4 separate regions of the Homo sapiens genome follow, and regions 1, 3 and 4 are each linked to region 2. Evidence: promoter capture Hi-C in 16 types of primary human blood cells and fetal thymus (Javierre and others, 2016). All regions are on one chromosome and are shown on one strand. The core of a region is centred on a gene start or on the middle of the fragment in contact, and the rest is flanking DNA. Distances in the headings are between cores, read along the strand shown. Region 1 has its middle 61 kb from the start of SLC25A36. Region 2 holds the start of CLSTN2 (calsyntenin 2). Region 3 has its middle 63 kb from the start of TRIM42. Region 4 has its middle 94 kb from the start of SLC25A36.

What was found. The method cuts DNA at HindIII sites, captures the fragments that hold promoters and counts their contacts. A CHiCAGO score of 5 or more calls a contact.
Region 1: a fragment that was not itself captured here is called in contact with the fragment with the promoter of CLSTN2 in region 2 in 4 of 17 cell types (endothelial precursors, total B cells, M1 macrophages and 1 more); the score reaches 10.8 in endothelial precursors.
Region 3: a fragment that was not itself captured here is called in contact with the fragment with the promoter of CLSTN2 in region 2 in 1 of 17 cell types (endothelial precursors); the score reaches 5.2 in endothelial precursors.
Region 4: a contact is called between a fragment that was not itself captured here and the fragment with the promoter of CLSTN2 in region 2, in 6 of 17 cell types (M2 macrophages, endothelial precursors, M0 macrophages and 3 more). The highest score is 8.2, in M2 macrophages.

What each region holds. Positions count from the first base shown.
Region 1 is chr3:140,877,642-140,884,310 of GRCh38, forward strand. No RefSeq gene overlaps it. Among named protein-coding and RNA genes, the nearest start is that of SLC25A36, 61 kb to the right of the region's middle. The HindIII fragment of the contact is 1,058 bases long and covers 2,156-3,213 here.
Region 2 is chr3:139,932,646-139,938,788 of GRCh38, forward strand. It overlaps CLSTN2 (calsyntenin 2), which reads left to right and starts at 2,540. Exons shown (of 17, transcript NM_022131.3): 1 at 2,540-2,838. The coding sequence starts at 2,730. RefSeq lists silencers at 2,538-2,587, 2,628-2,687. The HindIII fragment of the contact is 3,275 bases long and covers 1,374-4,648 here.
Region 3 is chr3:140,738,283-140,744,762 of GRCh38, forward strand. No RefSeq gene overlaps it. Among named protein-coding and RNA genes, the nearest start is that of TRIM42, 63 kb to the left of the region's middle. The HindIII fragment of the contact is 1,664 bases long and covers 3,510-5,173 here.
Region 4 is chr3:140,844,993-140,851,656 of GRCh38, forward strand. No RefSeq gene overlaps it. Among named protein-coding and RNA genes, the nearest start is that of SLC25A36, 94 kb to the right of the region's middle. The HindIII fragment of the contact is 8,464 bases long and covers 1-6,664 here.

The DNA.
Region 1 (6,669 bases), core at 1,435-3,934, 950 kb after region 2:
TCAGCACAGAGCCATACAACTAATACCCCTACTTATAGCGTTAGGAATGGCTACTGCTGCAGGAACTGGAATAGCCAGTTTATTCCTTCATTATCCTACTACTACACACTCTCAAAGGATTTCTCAGACAGTTTGCAAGAAATAACGAAATCTATCCTTACCCTACAATCCCAAATAGACTCTTTGGCAGCAGTGACGCTCCAAAACTGCCAAAGCCTAGACTTCCTCATTGCTGAGAAAGGAGGACTTTTGCGCCTTCTTAGGGGAAAAGTGTTTTTACACTAACTAGTCAGGGATAGTACAAGATGCCACCCAGAGTTTACAGGAAAAGGCTTCTAAAATCAGACAACGCCTTTCAAATTCTTATACCAACCTCTGGAGTTGGGCAACATGGCTTCTCCCCTTTCTAGGTCCTGTGGCAGCCATCTTGCTATTTCTTGCCTTTGGACCCTGTATTTTTAATCTCCTTGTCAAATTTGTTTCCTCTAGAATTGAGGCCATCAAGCTACAGATGGTCTTACAAATGGAACCCCAAATGAGCTCAACTAACAACTTCTACTGAGGACCCCAGACCAACCTGCTGGCCCTTTCACTGGCCTAAAGAGTTCCCCTCTGGAGGACACTACAACTGCAGGGCCCCTTCTTTGCCCCTATCCAGCAGGAAATAGCTAGAGCGGTCATCGGCCAATTCCCAACAACACTTGTGGTGTCCTGTTTAGAAGGAGGATTGAGAAGTGAAGCCAGCTGGACTTCTGGGTTGGGTGGGGACTTGGAGAACTTTTCTGCCTAGCTAAAGGATTGTAAATGCACCAATAAGCGCTCTGTGTCTAGCCAAAGGTTTGTAAATGCACCAATCAGCACTCTGTAAAAATGCACCAATTAGCACTCTGTGTCTAACTAAAGGTTTGTAAACGCACCAATCAGCACTCTGTAAAAACGGACCAATCAGCACTCTGTAAAATGGGGCAATCAGCACCCTGTAAAACGGACCAATCAGGAGGATGAGGGCGGGGCCAAATAAGGGAATAAAAGCTGGCCACCCGAGCCAGTGGCGGCAACCTTCTCAGGTCCCCTTCCACGCTGTGGAAGCTTTTTTCTTTCACTCTTCACAATAAATCTTGCTGCTGCTCACTCTTTGGGTCCACACTACCTTTATGAGCTGTAACACTCACTGCAAAGGTCTGCAGCTTCACTCCTGAAGCCAGTGAGACCACAAACCCACCGGGAGGAACAAACAACTCTGGACGCACCACCTTTAAGAGCTGTAATGCTCACTGTGAAGGTCTGTGGCTTCACTCCTGAAGTCAGCGAGACCACGAGCCCACCAGAAGGAAGAAACTCCTCCAGACACATCTGAACATCTGAAAACACAAACTCCGGACACACCATCTTTAAGAACTGCAACACTCACTGCGAGGGTCCATGGCTTCATTCTTGAAGTCAGCGAGACCAAGAACCCCTCGGAGAGAACCAATTCCAGACATAATACCTATGGCCCCTTGGGGATTTCTCCACAGACAGTTGACAGAATAGAAAAGGAGCAGGAAAAGGGCTTTATAAGGATTAGGCTAGCATGATATGCTGGCGTGAGCTAAAAATATGGACTGTTGCTGCACTAAAGACACACCCAAAATAACTCTGGGTGCCAATTCAAGTCCAGTGGTCATCTGCTTTGTGTCTGGAGAGAAGCGGCCAAAAGTAAGAATATACACAGACTTCTAGGTGGTGGAGAATGGCTTGGTTGCTTGGTCAAGGGCCTCAAGGGAACAACACTAGAGGATTGAAACCAAGCATGTCTGAGGAAGAGGCATGTGGCTGGAGCTATAAGAATGGGCACATAATGTGTTGATCTTTGTGTCTCACACTAGAGCCCACCAGAGAGCACGTGTGGCAGAAGAAGCACTGAATAAGCATATGGACAGGATGACTGGTCTAATGAATGCCTGTCAGCCCCTGTCCTCAGCCATCTCAATCCTTACAAAGGGCCCATAAATGAATGGATTAGTCGTGATGGCCTGAAATGATGGGCTCTCTCTCTCCAAGGCTGATCTAGCTACCACCACTACTGAATGCCTGACCATTAGCAACAGACACCAATGCTGAGTGCTTGATATGGTACAATCCCTTGAGGACATAAAGCAGCCACTCAGTGGCAAGCTTATTACCCAAGGTCTCTTCCACCCTGGAGGACACAACAATTCATCCTTACTAGAAATGAGAATGTCAACTTATAAACATAGAAGAAATGAAGGTATAAGAAAATCATTATTTTGAAACCATCATAATGATGGTTCATGCAGACAAAAATCAATAATGAATATGCATTTGTAAAAGTTTGATGAGGAGAAGGATATGTCCACCATTTCAAAGTACCTCCCCCAAATTACTTATTTATTACAGAAAGTAAAATAGTAACTTTACTATGTAGAAAACTACTGGACACCATCTTAACCAAGTGATCAAAGTTACAATCCCAAATCATCATCAGTTGACTCCTACCATTATGCACTGAGAAGCAAACAATATCACTTATGTAGTACTTTTACCAAAAAAAAAAAAAAAAAAAAATGCATAGGCCAAATCTGACCAGGGGAAACACGAGACAAATTCAAGATGAGCAACTTCTACAAAATAACTATCTGTAGTCTCTAAGATATAAACGTTGTGAAAGACCAAGGAAACCCTGAGGAACTATTCCAGATTGAAGGAAATCTAAGGGCTAAGAGTGATGATAACTAAAAGCAACATTCTTCTTGGACCAGAAGAAACAATGCTATGAAAAGCATTATTGAACAACTAGCAAAAGTGGAATGTGGACTATATGTCAAATTGTTTAATGCTTAAACATCGAGTTTCTTTAATTCATTAATTATACTGTGGTCATATAAAAGAGTTATCTTGTTGTTAGGAAATAAATACTGAATTACTAAGGTTTGAAGGAGCATAATGTCTCTAACTTATTCTCAAATGATTCAGGGGGAAAAGAAATAAATATACATGTGCGTGTGTCAAATATATATATTTCACGTGAAATATATATACATTTATATTACATATATTTTCATATATATGATATAAAGATGAATGATAAAGCAAATATAGCAAAATATTAACAATGGGTGAATCTGGTTAAAAGATATACATGAATTATTTAGTATGATTCTTATAATTTTTCTGTAAGTTTGAAATTACTTCAATATAAAAATGTAAATAAGCTTTAAGAATAAAGGATAAGAAAATATATTGTAGAGCCAGGTGCAGTGGCTTATGCCTGTAATCCCAGCACTTTGGGAGGCCAAGGCAGGAAGATTACTTGAGGTCAGGAGTTGGAAACCAGCCTGGCTAACATGGCGAAACCCCTTCTCTACTAAAAATACAAAAATTAGCCAGGCTTGGTGGCAGACACCTGTAATCCCAGCTACTCAGGAGGCTGAGGCAGGAGAATCCCTTGAACCTGTGAGGCAGAGGTTGCAGTGAGCCGAGATCATGCCATTGCACTCCCAGCCTGGCCACAGAGCGAGCATCCGTCTAAAAAAAAAAATTATAAGTGAACTCCCATTCACAATTGCTACAAAGAGGAAAAAAATGCCTAGGAATACAACTTACAAGGGATGTGAAGGACCTCTTCAAGGAGAACTACAAACCACTGCTCAAGGAAATAAGAGAGGATACAAAAAATTGGAAAAAAAATTCCATGCTCATGGATAGGAAAAATTGATATCGTGAAAATGGCCATACTACCCAAAGTAATTTACAGATTCAATGCTATCCCCATCAAGCTACCATTGATTTTCTTCACAGAATAAAACACTACTTTAAATTTCATATTGAACCAAAAAAGAACCCACATAGCCATGACAATCCTAAGCAAAAATAACAAAGCCTGAGGCCTCACACTACCTGATACAAGGCTCAGTAGCCAAAACAGCATGGTACTGGTACCAAAACAGATATATAGATCAATGGAACAGAACAGAGGCCTCAGAAATAATGCCACACATCTACAACCATCTGATCTTTGACAAACCTAACAAAAACAAGCAATGGGGAAAGGAGTCACTATTTAATAAATGGTGTTGGGAAAACTGGCTAGCCATATGCAGAAAGCTGAAACTGGATCCCTTCCTTACACCTTATACAAAAATTAACTCAAGATAGATTAAAGACTTAAATGTAAGACCTAAAACCATAAAAACTCTAGAAGAAAACCTAGACAATACCATTCAGGACATAGGCATGGGCAAGGTCTTAATGTCTAAAACACCAAAAGCAATGGCAACAAAAGCCAAAATTGGCAAATGGGATCTAATTAAACTAAAGAGCTTCTGCAGAGCAAAAGAAACTATCATCAGAATAAACAGGCAACTTACAGAATGGGAGAAAAATTTTGCAATCTATCCATTTGACAAAGGACTAATATCCAGAATCTACAAGGAACTTAAACAAATTTACAAGAAAAAATGAACAACCCCATCAAAAAGTGGGCAAAGGATATGAACAGACACTTCTCAAAAGAAGACATTTATGCAGCCAACAAACATATGAAGAAAAGCTCATTATCACTAGTCACTACAGAAATGCAAATCAAAACCACAATGAGATATCATCTCACACCAATTAGAATGGCGATCATTAAAAAGTCAGGAAACAACAGATGCTGGAGAGAATGTGGAGAAATAGGAACACTTTTACACTGTTGGTGGGACTGTAAATTAGTTCAACCATTGTGGAAGACAGTGTGGTGATTCCTCAAGGATCTAGAACTAGAAATACCATTTCACCCAGCAATCCCATTACTGGGTATATACTCAAAGGATTATAAATCATTCTACTATAAAGACAGATGCATACATATGTTTAATTGCAGCACTATTTATAATAGCAAAGACTTGGAGCCAACCCAAATGCCCATCAATGACAGACTGGATAAAGAAAATGTGGCACATACACACCATAGAATACTATGCACCCATGAAAAAGGATGAGTTTACATCGTTTGCAGGAACATGGATGAAGCTGGAGACCATCATTCTCAGCAAACTAACACAAGAACAGGAAATCAAACACATGTTCTCATTCATAAGTGGGAGTTGAACAATAAGAACACATGGGCACAGGGAGGGGAACATCACACACGGGGCCTGTCCAGGAGTGGGGGGCTAGGGGAGGGATAGCATTAGAGAAATACCTAATGTAGATAACGGGTTGATGGGTGCAGCAAACCGCCATGGCACGTGTATACCTATGTAACAAACCCGCACATTCTGCACATGTACCCCAGAACTTAAAGTATAATTAAAAAACACAAAGCTTATAGGATAAAAATATAAAGAAAAAAAATTAGCCGGGTGTGGTGGTGCATGCCTGTAGCCCCGGCTCCTTGGGAGGCTGAGGCAGAGAATTGCTTGAACACAGGGGATGGAGGTGGTAGTGAGCTGAGATTGCGCCACTGCACTCCAGCATGGGCAACAGAGTGAGACTCTGTCAAAAAGAAAGAAAGAAAGAAAGAAAGAAAGAAAGAAAGAAAGAAAGAAAGAAAGAAAGAAAGAAAGAAAGAAAGAAAGAAAGAGAAAGAGAGAGAGAGAGAAGGAAGGAAGGAAGGAAGGAAGGAAGGAAGGAAGGAAGGAAGGAAGGAAGGAAGGAAGAAAGGAAGGAAGGAAAAAGAGGGAGGGAGAGGGAGAGAAAGAAGAAGGGAAGGGAATATTGTGAACAATATTGTATCAGTAAATTTTAAAACATAAAAAATAGATATTCCCAGAAAAATCTAACTTGATAAAACTGCAATCACCTGATGGGTTCTTCTTGCATGCTGCACGGACAGGGCTAATTCATTGAAACAGTCATATCGCAGGAGTTTAATAATCACAGGGCTAGCCAAGAGGAAGAACAGGAGCTTATCACTCAAATCAGCCCTTCTTGAAAGTTCAGAGGCTAGGGTTTTCCAAGGATAGTTTGGCAGGCAGGGGGCTAGGAAATGGGGAATATGATTGGTTGGGTTAAAGCTCTTCTTGCACTGAGTCAGTTCCTGAGTGGGACCACAAGACCAGATGAGCCGGTTTATTGGTATACATTATCAGTCCACATAGCACATCAGCTGGTCCATCAGAATGCAGGGTCTAGAAAACACCAATCTTAGATTTTGACAATAATGATGTTATCTATAGAAGCAATTGAGGAAGTTACAAATCTTATGAACTCGAGAGCAGTAAATGAGTATAGAAAGGCAGGCTAGGGAATAAGGGCTTGTTATCATTTAACTACACTCATATTTTAGCAGATTCAGACCCCTCCCATAATCTTAATCTTGTGGCTTTTCACTGTTCTTACAAAGATGGTTTTGGTCCCTGAGCAAGGAGGGAGTTAGTTTCATTAAGGGACTGTTATCATCTTTATTTTAGAGTTAACAAAGGCAGTTAGCTTGTGAGGTTAGAAGCACAAAGGAGTCAGCTATATCAGATTTCTCACTGTCATAATTTTTACAAAGGTGGTTTCAAAATTACTCAGCAAAAAAACTTAAATAGATTTATAGTCATTAAAGAAATTGTGTTAAAAAGTTTAAAACATTTTAAAATCCTTTCCAAAAATTAAACATCAGGCTAAACAAGACAGATATGCAAGTGAGTTCTACCAAACTTTTAAGAAACAGATACTTCAAACTACCCACCTTTA
Region 2 (6,143 bases), core at 1,290-3,789:
AAACCACTTATTGTATCTCATAAGTCAGCTGGATAGTTCTGATGTGAGCCAGGCTTGGCTGATCTTGGTTGAGCTTACCTGGGCTTGCTCATGTGTCTGTGGTTAGCCAGCCTGTAGGCCAGTTGGTTCTGACCAGCCTAGTGTGACCTTGGCTGTCTGAAACAGCTCAGTTCTACTCCATGCAGTCTCCTACCCTTCTGCAGGTTAGCTTAGGCTTGTTCTCATGTCAGCAGCAGGGATTCAAGGCAGGAAGAAGCAACATGCATGCCACTGTCCCACTGACCAAAGCAAATCATATGGCCTAGCTCAGAGTTGGGGTGGGAGGGCACATCCAAAGGAAACAGATTCAGAGAAGCATGGACAAATGGCCATTAGTGCACTTGATCTACCACAATAGGCATTGTTATTACCCTCATTGGTAGAGGAGGAGATGGAGGCTAGCAATTTTGTGCCTGTTGGTAACTGGCCCACCCCCTAGTGTTTTTCTTTGCTGTGTTCTTTCCTGGCTATCTCTCCATGGAGATGCTTCCTAATAAGCTACATTTCCCCCTGTTTCTCATTATTTGGTCTGAATTTGAAACTTCACATAAAATTATTAGGACCAATCAGTGATCTTAACAAAGCCCAGTATAATGACATCAAAGAACAGTGCAGGTAAGTCAGTAAGATAGGTCTACTTATTAGAGAAAATGAAGGGAGGAGGGCAGATATGTAGTTGGGTGGAGCATAAATGGAAGAAAATGAGACAAATTTACATTTCTCTTCTATTTTCTGGCTTTTTTATTTTCCCTGGGTCAGCTACCACCTTTCCATGCCATCTTTTCTAGATTCTGAAACCAACATCTGACAAAGGCAAGGTCCTGGTGTCGGCCTGGGACATTTACTAGATTTTTGACCCTGAACAAGGAAGTTACCTAACTTCCCTGAGCCTCTATTTCATCATGTGTGAAATGAGAATAATAGCGCACATGTTGATTTGTGGGCTAAAGGAGACCTGAAGGTAAAGAGCCCCACATGGGTCTGAGCCCCATGCAGCCACCATGATTCACTGCTGTCCCCAAGCACATCCTGGTGCCTGAAATCCTGAAGAGTTGGCTTTCACCACTGCAGAGGCTCTGAGTGAGCTGCCAGGGCAGCAGAGGGAGGCTGAGCTGCAGGAGTGCTGTTAATGGATTTTATGGCTTTGTTGAGTACCTCAAACTACAGTTATTAATTAGAGGATGCTGTTTAGGCACTCTTGCAATATATACATTTTGTTAATTGATTTGTATAGGCTCATAGCTAGCAACATAAAGAATGTGCAGGACCATAACACTTACAAGGGATTGTAATTGCCTTTGCTGCCCTCTCTGGCTCCCCAAGCAGGGAACAAAAGCTTTGAGGATAGGACCCACTCTCTCCTCTGTCTTTGGATCTCCAACGACTAATCCAGTGCTCACTGTCAGGGTGATACAGCCTGTCTAGATGCTCAGCAAACGTCTTGAATCAATGACTAAATAAATAATATTGTTTGTTTCTGTATTTCCATATCTACTTTATTTCCAAACTATTCCTCATAAACCCTGCATTGTGTGTGATGTTGGCATTTCATTTAGGTAAATATGGTCAAGGATTTATTCTGAGTCCTTACTGTTTTTTTTTTTTTTTTTTTTGAGTACCTTTGTAATTTTTTCACGGCCTAGAGATGGTTGAGGATGCAAAGATATGCACTGGCTCCTGCACTCAGGGAACTGACAATACTCAACGGCACGAGATTTTACAATGCATGACGTCAAGTAGCCTGTTCTTAGAGATGCGGAGTGACAACATAAAGGTGGCAACTTCTTGCATGGCACCATACCGCAGGGAATTTTAAGTTTGACACCCCGCCCCCGCCACTGCAGCCTCAGCAGGCCCAGCACCCCAAGTTTTCTGATCTAGCTGTTCTATCAGCCTCTAAGAGCCGCGGCTGCCCCTGCTTCTCGGAGATGACGCGGAGCCCTGCCATTGCCATCCAGGTCCAAGGCTATCTACTCTGCCCGACAACCCCTAGCACCACTAGGCGCTGCTCTAGTGTGCGCCTGGCGCCCTCCCCAGACCAGTCGACGCAGAACGCCCAGAGACCCAGCCAAGGGCAAGACCCTTAGCGACGCCCGTCAGTCCTCTCCGCCCAGATATCAGTTCAAAGGGCATGGCAGGTCAGGGTCCCTCGCGCCACCCCAGATGACCCTCAGGCCTCGGGTGGCCACTTTCTGGGGGAGCCCTCCATCCCTTGCGGCAGCTTTTCCGAGAGTCGGAGTGGAGGCGCGGGGCTGGAGGGCTCTCCGGAGCCGCCCACCAGGGTCCTCTGGGGGCCCGGTCCCGACTGGGCAGGGGGACCTGGACAGGGCCCCGGAGCGTGGAGACGGCTGAGGAAAGTTGGGGGTCGGGGCCTTGGGGCGGGGAGCGCGGAACCCGGCGCCGATGCCCGCGTTCATGAATATGCACGAGCCACCTCCCTCCCTCCGTGACGTCACGGGCCGTCCCGGGGTGAGCGCCTGAGCCGCTCCGGGTCCGCGCCAGTGAGCGCGGCTGCTGCCGGCGAGCTAGCGGCGCAGCGGCGGGAACCCGAGGCCGAGCGCCGCGGCGGCAGCGCTAGAAGCGCACCCATCGGGCACGGCGAGGCGGCCCACGGTGCGGCAGGCACCGGGAGGCGAGAGCCGGCGCGGACAGTAGGCGGCGGCTGCAGCTCGTTGGCGGCTGCTGCGAGGATGCTGCCTGGGCGGCTGTGCTGGGTGCCGCTCCTGCTGGCGCTGGGCGTGGGGAGCGGCAGCGGCGGTGGCGGGGACAGCCGGCAGCGCCGCCTCCTCGCGGCTAAAGGTGGGTGCTGGGGAAGTTTGCTCTTCTCCCAGGAGGGAGGCAGGGCAGGCTTGAGGGTGAAAGCGGCAAGGACCTAGGCTCAAGCTGGATTTGCCCACCCTCCCTTGCCGCAGCTTCTTTGGCCTCTGTGCGCCCTGGATTCCCGAAGTCAGTTCCCTGCGCAGCGGACCAGAGAGGTCCACCCGCGGACGTCAACTCAACCCCTGGGCGGGGTCCGGGGGCTGAGCAGAAGGCGAGGTCTGGGGAGTACGGACAACTTTGAGGGCTGTCTGTGCCGGGGTGGGAGCGCAGTGGGTGAGTTTCGAGCTCTGGCCCAGGGACGGCTAGAGCAGGGCGCTGGCGCGCCGTGGGGACAAGCAGGTGTCTGCTCCTGCCTGGGGGAAGGATCAGCGGCGGTGCTTTCAAGGAGGGAGCCGAGCTGTGACTTGTCTCCCAGCTCGGGGATGGAGTGGAAACTTGTAGGCTCCAGGGAAGGCCCCGCTGACACTCCTCAAGCTCCCCCAGGGCGTCTCTGACTCCCCGGGGAACGTGTACCCTCCGGGTAGGCGGCGGGGTCCGGAAGAAGCGCGGGATGTGAGGCTCCCCGCTGCCTTTCCTACTCCGCTCTGACTACCGAGGACCGAGGAGCCTAACCTGGCACCACTCCCCTGCCCACCCTGTTCCTTTGAAGAGCTTGACCTCCCCGCGCCTCCCGCCCGGAAGGAAGCTAGATCCAAGCGAACGCCTGGCTCTGTCAGGCGAGCCTGGAAGCCGGCGAACCCCGGACTTTGACAGCTGCCTGGGAGCGTCGGGAGCTCTGGGGTGGGGGGCCGGGTCTGAAACAGGAGGTCACGTGCTTGCAGGGGGTGGGGAGGCGAGGGAAGAGCAGAGCTGGTGGGGAACAGTGGTGGGCTCAGGGGAGGCTGTGGCAGATCCTAGCTGGGGCGCACAGCTTAGTGATAACTTGTTGATTCTCTGCGCTGTTCATAAGTAGGGCTTGCGTTTGGTTTGTGGACTGTGGCCAAATCCGCCAGGTGACAATGAGGGGTACTTGGTCCCCAAATCCTGCCTGGCAATCATCAGAGGGCGGAGGGGTTTGCGCCTGTCAGAAAATAGATTCCCTGTTAGAGACAGCCTGATTCGGACGCTTGCTTTGAGCTACACTTGACCACTAGCTTAGGGGAGGAAATGCCTATCAGGCTGCATTACTCTTGGAGGTTGGGGAGAGCTGGAGGCAGGCAGTTCGCCTTGTCTGGGCTTTAGAAACTGGCCCTCCAATAACTTAGGAGTGATATATTTGAGAAGAACATGGGAGATTATGTTTATCTGTAATTTTTAAATTTTTTGGTGTCATCGTTTTGAAAATATTTTATAAGCAGGCATTCTGTTTCTTTTCAGCATTTTTTTTCTTGGTGTATCTTTGACAGGCAGTTTCTATTTTTAGAAATGAGAAATTTCATGAGAGAAAAACTCGTTATGAAAATATCTCAGAGTGCGGTAAAGAAGTGGCTGATATGAAGGGATCAAGCTGAGAGACTGTTGTTTTGGTGAAGACAAGAATAAAAAACAATGAACTTCCAAACATCTCCCCCCTGCTTTCCCAATATAGACACTTTGTTAAACAGGCAAATTACTTTTTTGGGGGGTGGGGGGGAGGAGATTTCCCATCACTTTGTAGCACAGTAATTGATATAAGCAGATGTCTGCAAACGGGAGTTTGAAGGAGGGTGAGAAGCACACAGCAAGTGCAGAACAGGGAAGAAATCATTTGGGAAGAGGATCTGGTGTGAGTAGTAATAATGCACGGCTGAGTTCTCAGGTCAGAATGGGAAGCTTCATAGAGGTAAGCGAGAAAGAGAAGGAGAGAGATAAAAAAGGAAAATAAAAACCCCAGGCTTTCAATGATTCACTTTATGTGGATAATTATGTGCATTTTAACCAACATCCGACTTAGAACATATTCATTTTTTGGTTAAAACTAGGCATTTGTCAGGTCGGGCATGGTGGCTCATGCCTGTAATCCCAGCACTTTGGGAGGCCGAGGCGGGCGGATCACCTGAGGTTAGGGGTTCGAGACCAGCCTGACCAACATGGAGAAACCCCGTCTCTACTAAAAAAAAAAAAAAAAAAAATTAGATGGGTGTGGTGACACGCACCTGTAATCCCAGCTACTCGGGAGGCTGAGGCAGGAGAATCACTTGAACCCGGGAGGCAGAGGTTTCAATGAGCCGAGATCGCGCTATTACACTCCAGCCTGGGCAACAAGAATGAAACTCCGTCTCAAAAACAAACAAACAAACAAACAAACTAGACATTTGTTTTTCCAGGGTAAAAAGTTTATTGGCCCTGCAGATTGAGAGTTAACTGTCCGAATTCCCCTTGTTCTCGCTTCTTTCCCCTTCCAACCACTGGGGGGCTGCAAAGAGCTCTGTTTGCTGCTGATTTTTTTTTCAAGATAAATGTGTAATATTTGATTACAACAGAGACATTTATTATGACACTTTAGTTAGTATTTACAGGACTGACTTTCCTTATAACAATGCACTTGCATTTTATGTTTCCAAATCATATGATCTCTGAAGAATGTTTGAAATGATAAAGCTGTATGTTTTGTGTATAATGCACCCTGCCTCTGACTTTGCCATTTTTAAGGTTCATACCATTGTTATTCCCATCACAAAAAAAAAAAAAAAAAAATCAGGAAGGCGTGTGAAGATTGAACAAAAAACCAGATACTTCTTTCGTACAATTCTGTATTCATGTGTAGAAAAACACTGGGAGTCTGGAGTCAAGCTTTCTGACAGAGTTGAATGCACCCTCCAAACAACTGTCTGGAAGCATGTGCTCCCAGCTTCAGTCTTGTGTAAGATGTTGTGTCTGTGGTGCACAGCTTGTTCTGCCTTTGTGCTTCTTGCTTCTTGCTTCTTGCTTTAGGGACTCGAGCAGTTAATCCCGGACAACTACCTGGGGTTTTCACAGAATCACTGTACTTTCAGTGTAGACATATTTCCAATTTCAGAAATCACACAGTGGCCAGGCAATTATAACTCCTTCCCTTCACCCTTACATATTTTGGCTATTCAAAAAAGATAAATACTTCTTGGATTCCATGAAGAGACCAGATCACATGCTCATGTTCTATGAGTAAAGCTGGTAAGGTGTTGTGGACCCAAAGAGTTTCTGGAGGCAGAGAAAGACATGTCTTATCCAAGGGAAGGAAGACAATGCAATCTAGACAACACCTCAAAGTTTGTGCTAAATTTGGCAAAATGTCAGTGGTCCCAAGACCTCAAGGACTTGGTACACAGTCCTTCTTAAGTTCCCAA
Region 3 (6,480 bases), core at 3,092-5,591, 810 kb after region 2:
ATTCTGGGGATGGTGAGCAGGAACAGGACTCTGTGGAGTAGAGTGAGTGGAAATGTCGCTGAATGTGGTGACCAAAAGATAAAGTGTGGGACTAATTCAAACGTAGACTGTCTGCATCATCAGAAGGAAACTTCTAAATCCTCAGGAAGGCTGCTACACTCACATTGACAAAACCTGAGGGTCAGAGAATTACCTAATAAAAGGAAGGTGTCTGCATGTCTGGGTCAATGCTATGCCATATGGAAAAAGCACCCACAGGCCCAAGAACCTGACCCATGACAGAACAGTGGGCACATAAGCCCCTGAGAAATTAACAATATCTGCTGGAGGTCTGTGAGCTTCCACGAGGCATAGAATGGGATTCTAAGCCAGCGTGAGGTCCTAGCAGCTGGAAATCCCAGCAGATACCTGGTCCATCCATGCACGTCTACATCCTTTCTCACAATAGGACTATTTTCTATCCATTGTCCCTGGGAACAGTGTGGTATTATGGAATAAACATAGGCCTTAGATATAAGAATATGCGAATGCCAATCCCAGTCCCTTCTTCCTCTCTGTGGGACCTTAGCAAATTGCCTTTCTCAGTCCCAATACCGCATCTAGAAGATGTATAGAAGCCATGTTTTTGAGGGTCAGCAACTTTATCAGTGAGGCTGGAGGCTCCTGGTCTGTGGCAAATATCCCCTAGTGAGGGTCCAGTCTGAGGGAGAGAAAGGAAACGGCTTGGGAGGAGTGGCGACATCTCCCCCTGCCCCTCTGCCAAGACAAATCAACTGCACAAGCCCTAAGAATGTGATGGCAAGCATCTGGGATTTACATGTGGTCACAGCTCCACATAGAATCAGAAATACATGTTCTCTGTCCTGTGTAACCCCTTGTCCACCAGTAGGTCTTTATGGGCTTCATTGTCAGAATGTGAATTCCAGCATGGTAGGCTTCACTAAGCTTGTTCTCTGTTGTAGAGTGGATCTGGGTCCTTGTTAGCAATGTAATGGGTGCAGCCTGGATTACATTCTTCCTACTGCTTTCCTAGGAAATGACCCTCCCTCATCCAATCTCAGGGTTGTAGCAGAAGCTCCATTGGATAATGTGACCCATGTGTGGCTATTAGAGACTGGTTCAAGGAAGGGCACTGCATTTAAGACTGAGAAGGGGGTCAGACTCTCTCTGAGTGGCTGGTTTGGTGCAGGCAAATTTGGGAGTGGTAGCAATGACCCTGTTCCACTGTGAGAACTGTGCAGCAAAGATGGTTGGACTACTGTAAGTCAGAGGGGCAGAGAAAACATGGATAAGTGAAAGAAAGTAAAGGCTCACTGGCTTGGGGTGGCACTCCACGCCACCTCTGGTCCTGCTGCCTGGCTTTTTCTCTGGGATTGGATTCAGAAACTCACTCTGAGATTTTTCCCACCAAGTCCTTCTTCACTTGAAGTAGACGGAATGGAGTTGCCAGAGCTGACATCCAGAAAAGGCCCAGCTAATGTGCAAACAAGGTTTCACTTGAAGGAGAGGAAGGACAAGGATGCTGAGTGCATGTGTTCTCAGATGAACAAATTGCCTCCAAGCTCAGCAAGTTGGGAAAACATACTCTAGCATTGTACACCTACAATCCGATGCCTCCCCTGGATGGTAATTTCACTCAGACACAGCAGTAACATTTTAGTATTTAATGGGATGCTTGTAGAGATTTCATTCCACGATGAGAACATTTCCTATTAAAGGAACAAAATGAAAAAAGAGTCATTCATTTCACATGAAAAACAGAGACTTTTTAAAATGGAAACACTGTCAATCAGGCTGAATCACAAGCTGTGATTAAAGCCTCCAGACTTTTTCCCATTTGTGCGAGCACATTTGAATTTTAGCCCAACACTGAGCCTGTATTATAAGAACGTCTAATGTATTCTGCTTTGAACATAATGCCAAACATGTCGTAAAAGTAAAACACTTATCACCTAAGTTCAAGCAAATTTTGGTCTTTTATTCAAGAAGCAGTCACAGCACCTCATTTACAACCTTAACTCAAAAGTAGATCTTCCTAATCAGAGAAATGAAGATAAAGCTGGAGTCTATTATCATCTGTGCTGCTGGTACATGAAGCATGGTTTATGGAAGAGAAGCCAGACATCTCTGGAAAAGTCAAGTTGTTCTCCCCCAGCCCACTACTGCTGTACCCAACAATGGGATTCTTTTTGCTGTTTCCATCCAAACAATGATTGAGCCCCCTGGGCTGTGGGCTGGATAAGTTAGACATGGTTCCTGCCCTCTGGAAATCCACCAGCTCATGCAGGAGGACTCTTCAGTTAAGGGACAATTATTACATGTACCAAGAGGCTGTGGATACAAGGAGGAGAGGCCTGGAGTGGGAGCAGCTGTCAGAAAGGGCTGCTGCATGATGTTGGAGTCAGTCTTCAGAGGAGGGGAAAGGCCTTCCAGGCACAGAGTGCAGCATGATGGGGCAGAGGTATGAAGAGCCTAACACATTAGGGGAACAGTGTGTCCTATGGGCAGCTCTCCCAAGGGCATGCAGTGACCTCTGCCCAGAACCTGAGAGGCCCAGGAACTGAGCAGCATCCCCTCTCAGGGAAGCAGAGGCGTACGTAGGTCTTAAGACAAGATAAGAGAAGCAGAAGATAGCCCCACGTTTCCTTGGTGATCTAAAGTGTTTCCAGAGACAGCTCTGGTCCAGGTAATGGGATAACTAAGGAAGAGACTAGAAACTGTTAACTCGATGCTCAGATGAACTAAAGAAAGTGGCATGACAGGCCTCAGCTCAAAACCTATTGGCCTTGCCCTCTCTGTGGCCAGTGCCCTTGCCAATTCCAATCTGGGGCCTCTGCTGACCTCAGAGACAGCCAGATCACCGCTTCCTAGATTAGGGCTTCTTCCTCAAGTCCATTCTCCTTTTTCCTTTCCCCAATATTCATCAGCAATTCTAATCAATTTTACCTCCAAAATATATCCCAAGCCTGCCCATGCCTGTCCCTCTTTTTTTGTCTCCACCTAGTCCTGGTCACCATCACCTCTTGTCTAGACAACTGCAACAGAGGGACATTTTATTTCATTATAAATCAGATCACAATATTCTACTCCAAACTCTCCAGACTTTCCTTCACACTTGGAATAAAATCCAAGCTCTTTTCCATGGTCAGGGGCCCAGCCCAGCTCTCTGGTCTCACCTTAGACCATCCTGCCCATGCTCAGCAGGTCCAGCTCCATCATCCTCCTTTCTGTATTCATCTTTACCCTGGCTCTTCTCACTGCCTGGAATGTGATTCTCACCTAACTCAAGAAGTCAACACAATGCCTAACTGATTGTCTTCATGGAACTTATTACTATTTTCTTATTGACTAGTCTCCCATCTCTGCTATACCATAGGTCTCATAGGAGGAGGGGCTTCTGAATCTGCATTCCTCAAGACTGTATTCCTAGAACAGGATCCATCCCACAAAGGGTATTCAAGGCACATTTACTGAGTGCACAAGTCCATGCATCTGCCAATATCTTTGAAAGCTTTAGACATTATGGAAGCCATGGCCCCTGGAATTTACCAGGCCAGAGAAGTGTGGCCCTTATGGAGGCTGCTGATGCAAGGAAGGAGTTCCATGTGCCCTGAGGTCTCCCAGACTGGGATCAAAGGCCCACTTTTCTGTGTTGGTAGAGCCTTCGTGACAGAGCATTGATGCCTCCACCACTAGCTGGCCACTCTGCTTCATAACTGTGCTGTATTAGTCAGGGTTCTCAAGAGAAACAGAAGCAATAGGGTATGTGTGTGTGTGTGTGTGTGTGTGTGTGTGTGTGTGTGTGTGTGTGTGTAAGAAAGGGGCGGATGGGAGAAAGAGAGAGATTTATTACAAGGAATTAGTTCACATGATTATGGAGGCTGACAAGTCACAAGGTCTGCAGTCAGCAGGCTTGAGACCCAGGAAAGCCATTGTTTCTGCCCTAAGTAAAGAAGGAACCAATGTCCCAGCTCAGCAGTCAAGCAAGAGGACTTTCCTCTTAATCAGCCTTTTTGTTCTATTCAGGCCTTCAACTGATTGGATGGGGCCCACCACATTCATGAGAGCAATCTGCTTTAATCATTCTGTAAATTTAAATGTTAATCTCACCCAAAAACACCCTCACAGGCACACCGAGAATAATGTTTGACCCAATGTCTGGGCACCACAACCCAGTAAAACTGACACACAAAATTAACAATACACACGCATTTTGTGTCTGTCTCCCCCACTAGGTGTGAGCAACTTGGGAAGAATTGGGTCTTATTTATACTGGATAATCTGCTTTAATACCTAAAACTTGGTAGGTGCTCAACAAATATCTGTAGAATGAATGAATGAATGAATCTCTGATTCCAAGAACTAGCCTCAGGTCTGGTCTAAGTTAAGACTCACAAACTTGGGTCACATTGAAGTGCCTATTGGCAAGGGATGGGAAGAGATCAGGATAATGTCTAAAGGTAGACCACCAGGCTGTCCAGAGGGTACAGAATATGTCATTCAGACCGTGAGAACTCACCCAGGAATCTCTGCACTGGCCAAGGCAGACAGGAGCAGTTTCACAGCACAGACTAGGCACCTAGCTACCGGCTGTAATGGCTTTGTCAGTTACTACCTGTGACCTGGTCAAAGACAATGACTCCTTGTGGCCTTAGTCTCTTCTTCCCTAAAGTGAAGGTGATAGTAATAACTTATTCACAGATTGCTATGAAGATGAAATTAGATAATCCATGAACAGAAAGTATGAGTTCATTTCATGACCCTTGGGGAAATAAAGACTTCTTTATTTCCCAAATCAGGTAAGTTTGGCTTGGATTGCAAGAAAATCAGATAAATAAAATGAAGTTATGTATAAAGAACTCATACAACTAAACAACAACAAAAAACCTGATTTTAAGAAGGGACAAAGGACATGACCAGATGTTTCTCCAAAGAAGATATACAAATAGCCAACAAGCATATAAAATGCTTGTTGCTCAACGTAACTAATCACCCAGGAAACATAAATCAAATCCACAATGTGATATCACCTCACACCCATTAGAATGGCTACTATTAAAAAAAAAGTAATAAGTGTGGGTAAGGATGTAAAGAAACTGGAAACCTTGTGTATTGCTGATGGGAATATAAAATGATGCAGCCATTGTGGAAAACAGTATGGCAGTTCCTCAAAAGCTTGAAAACATAACTACCACATAATCCAGTGATTTCAGTTCTGGGTATATACCCAAGAGAATTGAAAGCAGGGTCTTGAAGAGCAATTTGTATACCCATAGTCATAGAAGTATTATTCATAATCATCACAATGTGGAAGAAGCCCAAGTGTCCATTGACAGAAGAACACATAAATAAAATGTGGTTTTGTATTTAATAGAATGTTATTCATCTTCAAAAAGAAGGGAAATGTTGCTACATGTTACAGCATGGGTGAACTTTGAGGAGCTTATGCTAAGTGAAATAAGCCAATTACAAAAAGACAAATGCTATATGATTCCACTTATGTGAGATATCTAGAGCCATAGAGACTGAAGGTAAAGGGTGTTTGCCAGGGGCTGGGGAGAAGGGGAAATGGGGAGTTGCTGTTTAAACGAGTATAGAGTTTCAGTATTGCAAGATGAAAGAAGCTCTGGAGATTGATTGCACCACTATTTGAATGTAACTGCTGAACTGTACACTTAAAATGGTGAAGATGGTAAATTTTATGTTATGTGTATTCACAGATAAATCCACCTACACAACCAGTGAATCACGTTTATATCGCTCTTTGGGACTTTCCTATCCATCGCCATGTTCATCAACTCAGTTGATTTTCACAGCAACCCCCAGCAATCAGCAGAGTGGGTGGAATCCAGAGGGGCTCAGAAAGATCATGGATCTAGGACTAAGTTCCAGGTCTCCCAACTCCCTTCCTACTGGTCTCCTTCTACTGATCATCTTTCCTCTTGGGGACTATAAACTAGTGTTTACAGGGACTAGCCTGTCAGTGAGCCTTTAACCAGCATGACTAAGTGCTGACCCTACCTTAAAAATCATAAAGGCTCCAAAGAGAAGCCCTGCCCACTGTCCCTGAAGAATTAATACTTAATGAAGCCATGATTGTCCCCCAACAAAGAAAAAGATTGTCACTTTACTGTATACTCATGGCTGGAAATGTACCTTTCATCTGATGGCTCAGGGCAGAGAGCTTCAGAGAGTCCTCCTTGGTCCTTGCATCCAAAGTGGCACATCACATCAAGCCAGGGACATTCAACAACTATAATCCTAACTCAGCCCCATCTCCCCAAGGAGCCCCTGTAGCTGTTAAATCCACTCCAAGAAGCTACAGATCCTACCATGCCAGGGCCATGGGATGAGATCTGCATCTTAGAGGACGAAAGTCACATCTGTTAATATATAGAGAGCACTTAATACATGTAAGGTTCTACTTCTCTGTATTTTACATGTGTCCTGGGGTAAATTGTTAAGAAAGGAGTTATTGAT
Region 4 (6,664 bases), core at 2,030-4,529, 910 kb after region 2:
GATTTGGGTGAAGACACAGAACCAAACCCTATCACCCTTATAGCCTCACAAATAACAAGAAAAGAAAGTCTTTCTGCCAGCTCCAAGTAGCAGAACCTTGGAGAGCATTCTAGTTGACCAGACTGGACCACCACTGTGGCTATAGGCATGGGAAACTATCACTGGCCCTGGATGTGTTTCTAGACCAAGTAAGGGGGATGGGGACCAGGCAACCAAAAACAGTAGCCTCTATAGTCACTGTTAGGAAGGCCACAACAAACAGACCAGGAGGCAGACCTTCCAACCTGGACCTCATCCATTGTTACTGACTCAATGAGTGCATGTATATTGCAGTAGATACCTAGCAAGGACCAAAACAGATGTGGTCCCTGCCCTTATGTCACAAAATCTAATGAGAGAGGCAGAAGATAAACAGGTAAAGAGACAGAACAGTAACTGCTAATTGTAACAAGTGCCATGAAGGAAGGCAACAGGGTGAAGTGAAAAAATTAGGCAGCTGTTCAAATGAGATGTTTAGAAAAGCTCAGAAGAGGGGCCATTTGAGTTGTGATCTAAGACTTAAAAGAAGCCAGCCAAAGAGAGTGAGGGGAAAACTGTTCCAGCCTCAGTGAAGGAGCTCTGTGTGCAGAGGCCTTGAAACAGGAAAGACCCTGGCCCCACGCTGGGAAATAAATAGAAAAACAGGATGCAACATACCTGTGAGAGGAGAGTGGAAAGATCTGCACCTGGGGAGCAGGCAAGATCCAATCACATAGTGCATGGCATGCCTCGGAAAGGAGTTGATATTTTACTCTAAGGCAATGCAAAGCCACTTGAAGATCTTTAAGCCTCAGAGTACAATGAAATTATTTGTACTTTTAAAAATTTATATGTGAAGAATAATTTGGAGGGGAGCAAGGGTGGAAAGAGAGGGACTGGATAAGAGGCTGTGATTGCTGTAATCCAGCAAGAGTTGATGTGGCTGAAACTACAGTAGTGGCTGTGGAAGTGGAAAGACTGAGAAGATGAGAAGTACACTTAGCAGGAGCAAAGAGACAGGGCTTGTAGAATCAGATGCTTGGTTTGAGGGAGAAAAAAGAATAAGAGAGGACTCTCTGTACTGAGCAGGTGGCTGAATGGTGAGGTCATTTCCTGAGAGAGAGAAAACTGAAGTTAAACAGTTTGAATAGGGAAGAGATGGAGATCTCAGCCTGCGATAACTAATTTTGAGTTGAATGTGAGATATGAAAGTGGTGAGGAGGCATTTACATATTTAAGTTTGGAGTTCATCCGAAACTTGAGCTGGAGATGGAAATTTAGAAGATATCAAAATATAAATGATAATCAAAGCTGAAGGCATCAATGAGATTACTTATGGAGTGACTATGGAGAGAAATAAGAGTAAGACCTAAGACTGAATTATAAGAAACTGCAAAACATAAAGGTAAAAGAGGAGATCCAATAGAAGAGACTGAAGATGATCAAAGAGATAGGAGGGAAAGTGAGAATGATTCCATGGAGATCAAAGAGGAGCGTGTCTCACTGAAGAGGAAATAGCTGTGTCAAAGTTTCTGAGAGGTCAAGAACAACGAGAACAGAAGAGCGCCATTGAACTTGTCAACACAGAGGTCCTTGAGAGCAGTTTTGATGGAGGATAGGAATGACACCCAGACAGAAGTGGGTTGGAGAAGGAGCGAGGAGTGTAGAGAATAAAGACAGCATGTGACACGCCCTTCCCAGTTTTGTGAGAGAAGTGAGAAGTGAAATGGTAGTTGGAAAAAGATTGGGGATTGAGAAAATTTTGTAAAGAACTAGAGGTAGTTACAAAGAAGCCGTTACTGTGTCTGCTATATAAATTGGATGACTGTTAAACAGTTCTCAGTTAAAAGCTCTCAGTTAAACAGTGTTCCCAGGCTTTAAAATGTTCATTCTGTGGAACTAGATGTTCCCCAAGGTTCCTTCCATATCTGTCCTTCTAAAATTCTACAAGTACTCCTTTTTCAAAAGTCATAAAGAAAATATCCAGGACTGATATTCAAGCAGCTCCTCCTCATTTTCTTCTCAATTCATTTGATCATTAATTTATTCATTCATTTCCCTAGAAGGTGAGTGCCACAAGGGCAGGATTTTTGTTCTTTGCAGATGGGCACGTAATAGGTGGTCAATAAATATTTGCTTAATGAATTAACAAATGCATAGATTCAATCAGCAGGCATAGAGTACCTACACATGTGGAGCTCACTCAAAACCACTCAACAAACATTCAGCACCCAACAAATGCCAGGCTCTATGCTAAACACAACTCAGTCAGCCTCTTCTTAAAGTGGAAAAAATTAGGATCTGTTCTACCTGCTTCACAAGGCCATTATGAGAATCAAATGGGAAATACAGGCTCTGAAGAAAACTTTGCAATAAACAGGGGGTGTAAAAAAGACTTTGCAAATACCATAGTACCTTAGAAAGATCAAATGTTATTAATAAACATGGCTCTGCCCTCAAGAAGTTTGTAGTGAAATTAAAGAAATGAGAAAAACATATGAGAGAGATGTAATCACTGTTTTGTGGGTACCTAAGTGTGCCTCAGGCAGTAGAATGCTTTACATGCCTTCTCTCGCCCCACCATTGTACCCACACCTGAGATGGGTATCAATACCTTCAGCATGTAGATGCAGAGACCAACGTCTGACAGGTTAAATCACTCAGCTAGTAGGAGACAAAATGGATGAAAAGCTAGGTCTGTTTCTTTTTCTAAAATATTTTCTTTCACACAAAAGTAAATCTTAGGAAGCATTTGAAACCATTGTCCCTGAATACTAGCAATGAGTAGGTGAGGGAGGCGGGAACTATCATTTACTGCATGCTTACTTGACGCTGAACTCTCTATATAGATATCATTTAACTCTTATTTGTGACATAAGGCTTACATCCATTTGGTACACGAACACAAATTTCAACTGAGGTCTCCAATTCACTGATAATAACTAAAGTAGGCTTAAGCAGCACCTGTTATTTTGTGGAAAACCCAATGCTATTTTCAAGGTTTTGGAAAATTCCCAGGGATTTCATGTCTTGAGGTAAATTCTAGTTCCAAACACACTTACCTCAACACATGCTGTGCCCACAGCTGATCTCCCCCTTCTGCTGGGCACCAGTGCAGACCTGAGATGCAGAGCCTTTGATTTCACGCAGAGATCACTCTCGCAAAGCATTAAAAAGCATATGGTAGGCTTTGCGTTATGTTTTGGGAGACAGAATAGCTTTACATCCTAGCAAAGTAAACAGCGTAAGATTGACTAGCAGACAACCTTGCCCATCATATCCTTTGTTCAGGTGACTCTAGGAGTTTCTCACTGTTAATTTTTCTGCAGACACTCCAGCCTTCCCCTGAAGACACTCCTCACATGTGATTCCCCTTGTGAACACCTACGGAATTGCCTATGTAGAAGCACTTATTTTAAATCCTGCCCCTTATCCATCTGTAATAATCCTGGGGGTTTACACGGTTCTTACATTACCCCAGTGACTGGTCAAGTTGTGGCCATCTATTCCATGTTCAGCCAATGAGGCCCCTCCCTGGGCATTTTGGAATCGGGACCAGAGAAGCAATTGGGTCAGCCCCTCTCTGACGGCATCCAGCACCTCTAGTGATTGATAAATTTCAGCATCAGCTTAAGCCAATGTAAGCTGCTGCTTAAGCATCAGCTGAAATGTATCAATCTCTAGAGGTGCTGAATGCCATGTTTCAGCAGAAAAAGAAAGCCAGTTTTCAGGGAGAGAATGAAGCATGTTTACAAAAAGGAGCCAAGAGGAGAAAAAACAAGATATGAAAAGAGAGATAGTCATGACAGTACCCAAGACACTCATTTTGGAGTTCCCAGAGCCCAGACACATCCGTGTTCTTCAGCTCCATCTCTTGGGCTGTCAGCTTCTAGCAACTGCTGGTGAATTTGAAATGTGATCCTCCTTTTCTCCTCCACCAATCTTTGTATGTAAATGAAAGCAGTAGAGAATTATCTCCCTCCACCATATGAATTATGCCAATCATGTTAGAAGATACAATCAGTTTACTCTTAGTGAAGAACTCAGCTAACACAGACAACCCCTGCCAGCTCTGACAGAAGCAAGGACACCCTATAATGCTTTCTACCAGGCATCCTACCCAGCCCCAGCAAGAGTCAGATGTCAGGGTTCTTCCCATCAACCTCATGCCCAGGTAGGATATGGCTTACACTGCTGACTTAGCTGGTGGGGTGGACACTGTCCAGGAAGCCTTGTCTGTCATCTCACAATGCACAAAAGGGAATGGAGTATCAAGGAATTTAAAGAACTTGCTAAAGTCAGAACAAGTAAGAAGAGGTAGAATTTGAAATTGGGTATGCTTGTGTGTCATTAACATGATGGTGGGACAGAAGTGCAGGCCCAAGTGCAGACCCAAGAAAGCAGGGCTGGGGGATGAGGATGGGAGAAACCCATCTACCAGGGGTCTATAGAGCTTTGCCTTTTCCATATTGTTATTTCTTTTCTCCTTCCTCCTTTATTCTTCTCCTACAATCGCTTCCTTCCTCTACCTTCTCCTCCAACCCTTCTGAGCCCCAGGACTCCAACTGGCATGGAGGAACACAAGTGGCTCCACTCTGACTACTGACCATCCCCCTGAGGCCAGTCAAGAGACCTTGAGCCCTCACCCTAGAAAACAAGACAATCTTGTGCAGAGGACACTGTGATCCACTAAGGACAAGGCACAGCAAAGAGAATTCCAAGTGAAAAAAAACAAAGGAGGCTGAAGAGAGGGCTACACATTGCTCACCACAGTCCTTGAATAGCCTTCCTTGGCTTTCTCTGGAATCCCCTCTCTTCTCATTCTCTGAAAAGGGAAGGCTAAGAAGGTATATCACAGTCTTCTATCTATCAAAGCAAAAGGGTTGTTCTTAGTCCTAAACAAGTTAATCCCAGCTTCTGTCCTGACTTCCACAGGAGCAATCTATGTGACCTTTGGAAAGTCATTTAAAAAAAAAAAGTCAAATCACTCTATGGAATATGATCCAAATCTCATAAAGTATGTGTATATAAATGGCTGCTTGCACAAAGGAAAAAAAGCAGAATGAAACACATCAAAATGTACTGTGGGGGAATTTTAAGAAATTTCTTCTTTATGCTCTTCTCTATTTACACTGTTTGTACAGTGAATATGTATTACTTTTATAATTATAAAATTCCTCACTGAATATCTCTGGGCTGTAGTTTCCAAGGGTATCGAATATTAAGTGTGGATTGCACCTGCTTTGCTTCTGTCATAGTGCTATTTTGGGAATAAATAATATAATGCCAAAAACTGCATGATCCGTATCACCAGCTGAGGTTACCAACACGAGCATGTTTCTTTCATTTTTTCCCATTAGTCACTTGAGCAGCTGCAAGCAGTTTAGTATCTACCACCTTGAGGTCTCACCCTTATAGCACTATAGAATGAGTTCCCCTGTAAACAACAGAAAACCCGATTCATAGTAGCTTACACAAATGGGCATGTGTTTCCCTTCCATAACAGGAAATCCAGAATTAGACAGCCCAGGGATGGAATGCTGCACAAGGATGCCATCAAAAATCCAGGCTCCTGTCTCACCATCCTTAGTATGTGATTCATTCTTGTGGTCACAGGAAGGCTGCTGCACCTCTAGACAGGAAGAAGAGGGAAAAGCAAAGGGCAAAGAGATTTTGCCTTTTAATTTGGCATGTGAATTCTGCCTACATCTATTGGCCAGAACCAGATCACATGACCAGCTCTGGTTGCAAGGGCAGCTGGGAAGTTGAGTAAGTTCATTTTCCACCCTCTATCACAGAGAAGCCAAGGAGGGAAGAACCTGTGAATGACTTTTGATTAACCAAGCACTTAGTCTACCACACCACTGGAGCTTATTTAACCTGAAGGGTTCAGTTCCACCTGAAGGCCAGGTGGAGTGTGAATTGGAAAGTCTGTTCTGTCCACAGGAAGACTCAGTTTTCATCTGTCATTGAATGTGTTGCTGCCTTCCAGGATTGCTGTTAACAACTAGTGCCAAACAATCAGCTGATTCCTTGTCCCCAGCAGAGGTGGTGCTCTTATTGCTCCTCTGTCCCTGTACAGGCCATAAGACTCTCACGGTTGGTTCATGTTGCAGTCATTTAAGTTACACTGTCATGCACAGCCATTATTCCTCAACCATAAATTTAGTGGAAAGGTGGGTGGGTCATAAAAGGCTTCTCACCTCAGCCTCATCTTGTATCAGAAATTGCTTCTCCGTGATCCCTTATCCCCTAATTTTGAGCCTGGGTTATCAGTCCAGACTTCCCAGAGAATGCCTCTTTTCTCACTGCAAGACTTCAGACTAGGTCATCCCAGTCCATTAGAGAAGGTCTACTACAGCTGAACTTCTAGATGATGGTAGTCAGACTCTCAATGCCTTCCCCACAGAAGACTCCTTGGCCCCTGTGAAAATTTGTATACCTTTTCTCCCAAACCATCTCAGATCACAAAAAGCATTTCTAGGACTTGTCTCCATCAGGCCACACAAGGCCCTATTATGCTCTTTCACCAATGGGGAATTTACACTTAAATAACCAAAAGGGCCCACTCCAACAGCTCTCCCTGAACATAAATGTACCCCAATGTAATTTGTTCTGAACACCTAGATGGAGAAACAACTATTCT